2 separate regions of the Homo sapiens genome follow, and region 2 is linked to region 1. The links are contacts of gene promoters, found by promoter capture Hi-C in human tissues and cell types (Jung and others, 2019). All regions are on one chromosome and are shown on one strand. Each heading gives the region's core, a stretch centred on a gene start or on the middle of the fragment in contact. The rest is flanking DNA. Distances are from core to core; before and after follow the strand shown.

Evidence for each region. The method cuts DNA at HindIII sites, captures the fragments that hold promoters and counts their contacts. A contact is called where the count stands out against the background at its distance.
Region 2: a fragment that was not itself captured here is called in contact with the fragment with the promoter of HTR3D in region 1 in 2 of the 25 tissues and cell types used here (IMR-90 fibroblasts and small bowel).

The regions. Positions count from the first base shown.
Region 1 is chr3:184,030,411-184,034,354 of GRCh38, reverse strand. HTR3D (5-hydroxytryptamine receptor 3D) reads right to left here and starts at 2,613. Exons shown (of 8, transcript NM_001145143.1): 1 at 2,548-2,613. The coding sequence starts at 2,613. The HindIII fragment of the contact is 22,402 bases long and covers 1-3,944 here.
Region 2 is chr3:184,117,461-184,121,480 of GRCh38, reverse strand. It overlaps the pseudogene HSP90AA5P. Among named protein-coding and RNA genes, the nearest start is that of HTR3E-AS1, 14 kb to the right of the region's middle. The HindIII fragment of the contact is 9,466 bases long and covers 1-4,020 here.

The sequences.
Region 1 (3,944 bases), core at 1,364-3,863:
CTTTTTGTGACTGACTTATTTCACTTAGCATAATGGCCTCACAGCTTATCCACATTGTGGCATGTGTTAGAATTTTGTTCCATTTGAAGGCTGCATAGTATTCCATTGTAAGTACATACCACATTTAATCTGTCCATTCATCTGTCAATAGACACTTAGACTGCTTCTGAGTTTTAACTATTGTGAGTAATTCTGCTATGAACATAAGTGTACAAATACCCCGTTTTCACTTTTTTCGGGTATTTATCCAGAAGTATAATTATTTGGTTGTATGGTAATTCTATTTTTAATATTTTGAGAAAAAGCCATACTGTTTTTCCACAGTGGCTACACAATTTTACATCCTCACAAGCAGTGCACAAGGGTTCCAATTTCTCCACATTATCACCAACACTTGTTATTTTCTGGTTTTTTAATTTTGTTTTGTTTTGTTTTTTTGAGACAGAGTCTTGCTCTGTCACCCAGGCTAGAGTGCAGTGGCACAATCTTGGCTGTCTGCAACCTCTGCCTCCTGGGTTCAAGCAATTCTCCTGTCTCCTCCTCCCGACTAGCTGGGATTACAGGTGCCCACCAACACGCCCAGCTAATTTTTGTATTTTTAGTAGAGATGGGGTTTCACCAAGTTGGTCAGGCTGGTCTTGAACTCCTGACCTCACGTGATCTACCCGCCTCAGCCTCCCAAAGTGCTGAGATTACAGGCATGAGCCACCTCGCCCAGCTTCTGTTTGTTTTTTAATACTAGCCATCCTAGTGGGTGTGAGATATCTTACTGTAGCTTTGATCTGCATTTTCTTAACTATTAGTAACATTGAACATACACCTTTTCTTGTGCTTATTGGCTGTTTGTATTTCTTCTTTGCAGAAATGTCTATTCAAGTCCTTTGCCCATTTTTGAATTGGGTTGTTTGATTTTTTTGTTGTGAGTAACTAATTTTACAAAATCCAATCAAAGGGCCAGGCACGGTGGCTCATGCCTGTAATCCCAGAACTTTGGGAGACCAAGGCAGGTGGATCACCTGAGGTCAGGAATTTGAGACCAGCCTGGCCAACATGGTGAAACCCTGTCTCTACTAAAAATACAAAAATTAGCTGGGTGGGGCAGCACGTGCCGGAGGCTGAGGCAGGAGAATCGCTTGAAACTGGGAGGCAGAGGTTGCAGTGAGCTGAGATTGCACCACTGCACTCCAGCCTGGGTGACAAGAGCAAGACTCCATCTCAAAAAAAAAAAAAAAAAATCCAGTCAGAGGGTCCACTGCTCACCACTAGACCACTGCAATGTTGGGTGAGGACTTACAACTTCCAGATGGCAGACAAGGTGAAGGAGATGTTGACATGAGTGGCGACACTGTAGTTGGTGACTGGACCAATAGCCTTTCTGTCAAACACTGCTTGAAAGGCTGCAGGGTCCACCCTGTGCTGGCCAAAGCCTGGGCAATTGATAATCAAAGTGTCGCCATTTCCTGTAGTGAGCAGAGACTGAGAGAGGAGGGCCAGGGCTGGGGGGCCTGGAGAGTGTTTCTGCATGGAGAGAAAACAGGGGGCACTGGGAGAAGCATGTGAGCTCCTCCTTCCTGGTCCAGGAAGAGTAGGCTGAGCTGGTAGGCAAATGGTGGAAACTGATGAGGTGAGCTGAGTCAAGGATCCATCCTCAGTGCCATTGTTTTGTCCCCATGCAAAACCTGTCCAGATGTGTATGCAAACTCAACCCCGACCGCCACTTTACAGTGTCCTGCCATGTCCTTAACAATCTCACTGCAACCTCTCCACCTTCTGCCAGTGTCCTTCTCTTGCTTACCTCCAACCTGGAGCCATGTGGGTGATGTCAGTGACAAATTTTGCACTCACAGTTCTCCGCCTCGCTGTATTAATATGGCATAGATGCTAATAAATTAATGATAAGGGGAGTAATCAGATAGGTAGTGTGAGATATATGGGATCTTAAGGAAACAAATCAATTTCAGTTTTTCAATTTGATGAGTATTTACTGTGTCTTTACTATGTGCTGTGATTGTTCTAACATTTAGTAGTCTTCATCACTAGGATTATCTTAAAGAGTTCCCAGGCTGGGCTCAGGGGCTCACGCCTGTAATCCCAACACTTTGGGAGGCCCACGCGGGCAGATCACCTGAGGACAGGCATTCAAGACCAGCCTGGCCAACATGGTGAAACCCCATCTCTACTAAAAATACAAAAATTAGCCAGGCACGGTGGCAGGTGCCTGTAATCCCAGCTACTTGGGAGGCTGAGGCATGAGATCGTTTGAACCTGGGAGGTGAAGGTTGCAATGGGCTGAGATATTGCCACTGCACTCTAGCCTGGGTAACAGAGCGAGACTCCATCTCAAAAAAAAAAAAAAAAAGAAGAGAAAAGAGTTAACTAAATATTAGGATCCTAGGAAGAGGTACAAAGCCATCAGTGTCACGAGCATCATTTTTACCATAACGAACATCCAATCATTGACTATCTCAGAATAAAAAATATTAGCCTGTTTTCTCTGCTTCCCAGGAGTTACATGTCTGCTCAGCTCTTGCTCTTATCTTAAGGTACTTGCAGCAGCAGGTGGAGGATGAAGCCAAGGAGGAATCCTTTCCCATGGAACCAGCCTCTTTCCATCTTCCTCTCTTTGGCACTTCTCTGGGTACTTGATGATGATGTTAACCTTTAAAAAACCTCAGATCACACCTTGAGCCCTACCTTTGAATAATATATATATCAGCTGGCATTAACCGCCTCTCTAACAAGACCCCTTGGTGACAAAAGAATGTCACAGAGGAATAACTCACCCTGTGCTTTAACTGGGCCTGAATCTAGCCTCCAAAAGTAATATGGCAAATCAGTTTGGAGAAGAGGAAGCAAAAATATGTGGTCCCTGGAGCAGTGCTAATGGCTTCCTCATACTTTAAAGTCACTCTGGCGTACAGTGCCTCACCGAGAAGGCATGGATGACTACCACTGCCTCCAGGTGGCACGTGAACTTGTTAGACCCTGCTGTCATCTTTCTTTCTTTTCTTTTCCTTTCTTCTTTCTTTCTTTCTTTTCTCTTTCTTTTTCTTTCTTTCTCTTTCTTTCTCTTTCTCTTTTTCTTTCTTTTTTCTTTCTTTCCTTCTCTCTCTCTCTCTCTCTCTCTCCCTCCCTCCCTCTCTCTCTCTTTCTCCCTCCCTCCCTCCCTTCCTTTTTTTTTTTTGCGACGGAGTCTCCCTCTGTCTCCCAGGCTGGAGTGCAATGGTGCAGTCTTGGCTCACTGCAACCTCCGCCTCCCGGGTTCAATCGATTCTCCTGCCTCAGCCTCCCAAGTAGCTGTGATTACAGGCGCCTGCCACCATGCCTGGCTAAGTTTTTGTATTTTTAGTAGAGACGAGGTTTTACCATGTTGGTTGGCTGGCCTCAAACTCCTGACCTCAGGTGATCTGCCCACCTTGGCTCCCAAAGTGCTGGAATTACAAGCGTGAGCTACCATGCCCGGCCCCCTACTGCCATCTTTCAAAAAAGAAAGCGTGTTGGGGGGAGGGGGGTCCCTATTAATATAAGCAACTTCATACACTGAGGTTTTAAACATGACTTCAGTATAGTTAAGACTTTAAAGTATGAGGAAGCCATTAGCACTGCTCCAGTGATGACATATTTCTGCTTCCTCTTCTCAAAGCTGATTTGCTATGCCTTTTTAGTGTTTCAAAAGCAATCTGGACCCAGGTCTACCCAATGAAGGGAGTGATTAGTGGAGTAGGGGGTGGTGGCAGAGGTAATACTTTTTTAAAATAAAAGCTGACTTATGATTTTTTTTTTTAAATGGAGTTTCTCTCTTGCTGCCCAGGCTGGAGTGCAATGGCGCGATCTTGGCCCACCACAACCTCTGCCTCCCGGGTTCAAGCGATTATCCTGCCTCAGCCTCCCGAGTAGCTGGAATTACAGGCATGCACCACAAAGCCCAGATAATTTTTTTTTCA
Region 2 (4,020 bases), core at 1,423-3,922, 87 kb before region 1:
TCAGGAGTTCGAGACCAGCAAGACCAACATGGAGAAACCCCATCTCTACTAAAAAATGCAAAATTAGCTGGCATGGTGGTGCATCCCTGTAATCCCAGCTACTCGGAAGGCTGAGGCAGGAGAATTACTTGAACCCGGGAGGCGAGGGTTGCGGTGAGCCAAGATCGCGCCATGGCACTCCAGCCTGGGCAACAAGAGTGAAACTCTGTCTGAAAACAAAAGCAAAAACCAAAACCAAAACAACAAAAAACATCCATCCTCAGGAGGGTAAAGTGTATTGCATTTCCCTAATGACTGATGATGTCAAGCACCTTTTCATGTGCTTTTTTGTTTGTTTGTCTGGACAGAGTCTCATTCTGTTGCCCAGGCTGGAGTGCACTGGTGTGATCTCGGCTCACTGCAATCTCCGCCTCCCAGGTTCAAGCAATTCTTCTGTCTCAGCCTCCTGAGTAACTGGGACTACAGGCTCACGCTACCGCACCTGGCTAATTTTTGTATTTTTAGTAGAGACCAGGTTTCACCATATTGATCAGGCTGATCTCGAACTCTTGACCTCAGGTGATCCACCCATCTTGGCCTCCCATAGCGTGGGCCACCCAACCTGGCCTGCTGTTTTTTTTTTCTTTTCTTTTCTTAAATAGGGATGGGGTTTTTTGGCCAGGCTGGTCTCGAATTCCCGACCTCATGTAATTAGCCCACCTCAGCCTCTCAAAGAGCTGGATTACAGGCATGAGCCACTGTACCCGGCCTTCATGTGCTTACTGGCCATTTGTGTATCTTCTTTGGAGAAATGACTATTCAAATTCTTTGCTCTTTTTCGTTGATTATTTGTTTATTTATTGTTCAGGTGTAAGAGCTCTTTATGTATTCAGGGTACATATCCTGTATCAGATATATGACCTTCAAATATTGTCTCCCAGCCTGTGGGTTCTTTTTTCACTTTCTTGATGGTTTATTTAAAGCATGATAGTTTTAAATTTTGATAAAGTCCAATTTCTCCTTCCTTCCTTCCTTCCTTGCTCTTCTTTCCTTCCTTCCTTCCTTCCTTCCTTCCTTCCTTCCTTCCTTCCTTCCTTCCCTCACTCCCTCCCTCCCTCCTTCCTTCTCTCCCTCCCTCCTTCCTTCCTTCCTTTCTTCTTCTTCTTTTTTTGGGATAGAGTTTCCCTCTTGTTGCCCAGGGTAGATTGCAATGGTGTGATCTCAGCTCACCACAACCTCCGCCTCCCGGATTCAAGTGATTCTCCTGCCTCAGCCTTCCAAGTAGCTGGGATTACAGGCATGCGCCACCACGCCCGGCTAATTTTGTATTTTTAGTAGAGACAGGGTTTCTCCATGTTGGTCAGGCTGGCCTCAAACTCCTGACCTCAGGTGATCCGCCTGCCTAGACCTCCCAAAGTGCTTGGATTATAGGCATGAGCTACCGCGCCCAGGCTTATCTATCTTTCTTTTTTATCGTTTGTGCTTATAATAGTCATATATAAGAAATCATAGCCCACCCCAAGATCGTGAAGATTAACTGCTATGTTTTCTTCTAAGAAAACATTTAGCTCCTATGTTTAGGACTGTGATCCATTTTGAGTTGATTTTTGTGTATGGTGTGAGGGGTAGGGGTCCAAAGACATTCTTTTGCATGTGGATATCCAGTTGTCTAAGCACCATTTGCTGAAAAAAACTATTCTTTTTATCATTGAATTATTTTGTTCCCTTTGTAGAAAATAAATTGACCGTAAATGTTAGGGTTTATTTATGAACTCTCCATTCGAATTTCGTTGACCTATATGTCTTTCCTTATGCCAGTATCACACTATCTTGATTACAATATCTTTGTAGTAAGTTTTTTTTTTTAAGATGGAGTCTTGCTCTGTCTCTCAGGCTGAAGTACAGTGCCACGATCTCGGCTCACTGCAACCTCCACCTCCTGGGTTCAAGCGATTCTCCTTCCTCAGCCTCCCGAGTAGCTGGGATTACAGGCACACGCCACCATGTCCAGCTAATTTTTGTATTTTTAGTAGAGATGGGGTTTTGCTACTTTGGCCGGGCTGGTCTCAAACTCCTGACCTCAGGCGATCCCCTCGCCTCGGTCTCCCAAAGTGCTGGGATTACAGGTATGAACCACCGCGCCTGGCCTGCAGTACGTTTTGAAATGAGGAAGTGTGAGTCTACCAACTGTGTTCTGCTCCAGGATTGTTTTGATTATTCTGGGCCTGTTGCATTTCTGCCTTTTTTTTTTTTTTCTTTTAAACTCATCTGTATTTGTTACAACCTTTTTAAGCAGAATGTGACTTGGGTACTACAGTTCCATTCACAAGCCTCGCTCTGGGTTATTTCTGAACAGCTTTACAATATGCCTAGGTAGGCTTATAATTTTGCTCCTGCAAACAATATTTTCCTTTGGAAAACAAGTCCTGTGGAGAGTTCCTTCCATCAAGTTGCTTCAGTTTAACATATTTCCAGAGGACAATTACATGCAGAATTGGCAACTACAGGATGAAAAGTTTAAAAAGTAGATCCTAGAAGATGCAACAAATACTTTTCCTCTAAACATCAAGGTATTTCTCAGAAAACTTCAGTGACAAAGATTTGGCCTACTAAGGAATCTGGCTTGATAGCTTAAACAGTTTAGATCACAAAGTTAATGTTAGGTTACATACATCTTTTTTTTTTCTTTTCTTTCTTTCTTTCTTTCTTTTTTTTTTTTTTTGAGGTGGAGTCTCTCTCTGTTGCCCAGGCTAGAGTACAGTGGCGTGATCTTGGCTCACTGCAACCTCCACTTCCTGGGTTCAAGCAATTCCCCTGCCTCAGCCTCCCGAGTACCTGGGATTACAGGCACCTGCCATAGCACCCAACTAATTTTTGTATTTTTAGTAGAGACGAGGTTTTGTCATGTTGGCCAGGCTGGTCTTGAACTCCTGACCTCAGGTGATCCACCCGCCTCGTCCTCCCAAAGTGCTGGGATTACAGGCGTGAGCCACCGCACCCAGCCTACATACATCTTACAACACACATTACCCCAATCTGTTAAAATAAGCCAATGTGAAACTAGAAAAGCATTGCTAGCTCTGTTTTAGTGCCTGAAGTATCACAAAATCACTTAGAAGTATCACAAAATCACTTAGAAGTAGAAAGAAACCTTACCTTCCCCCTGAAATAGTTATTGTCATGCCATGCAGACTTTTTTTTTTTTTTTTTTGAAGGCAGAGTCTCCCACTTTCTCCCGGGCTGGAGTGCAATGGCGTGATCTCAGCTCACAGCAACCTCCGCCTCCTGGGTTCACATGATTCTCCTGCCTCAGCCTCCTGAGTAGCTGGGATTACAGGTGCACACCACCACACCCGGCTAATATTTTGTTTTTTTTTAGTAGAGATTGGGTTTCGCCATGTTGGCCAGGCTGGTCTCGAACTCCTGACCTCAGGTGATCCACCTGCCTCAGCCTCCCAAAGTGCTGGGATTACAGGTGTGAGCCACCACGCCCGGCCCCCATACAGACTTTTTAAATGTTAACAAAAATAACTAAAATAATCCTGAAAATATATTATCAGAGAGAATGAAGATAGAGTATTGAACACATGTACAAGTCATTCCTCAGCCAGAGCCGCCTACTTCTTCCATGCGTGATGTGTCATCACCTCCTCTGAGGGGCGGCATTTCTTTAGTTATAGCGGCATTGATATCATTAGCAGTAGGATCATATTCATCAACACCCAGACCAAGTTTGATCATCCTATAGATCTTGTTAGTATGTCTCTGAGGGTCTTCCATACTGAAGCCAGGAGATGGGAGTGCAGTTTAGTAAAGCAAGATGACCAGATCCTTCACTGACTTGTTGTTCTTATCAGCCTCTGCCTTTTGCCTTAAGGTTTCAATCATGAATGGTCAGGGTTTATCTCCAGGTGTTTCTTTGCTGCCACGTAGCCCATTGTTGAGTTGTCTTACCGGGCTTGAGCTTTCATGATTCTTTCCATGTTTGCTGTCCAGCCATATGTGCTTGTGACAATACAGCATGGGGATGTCACCAGTTTG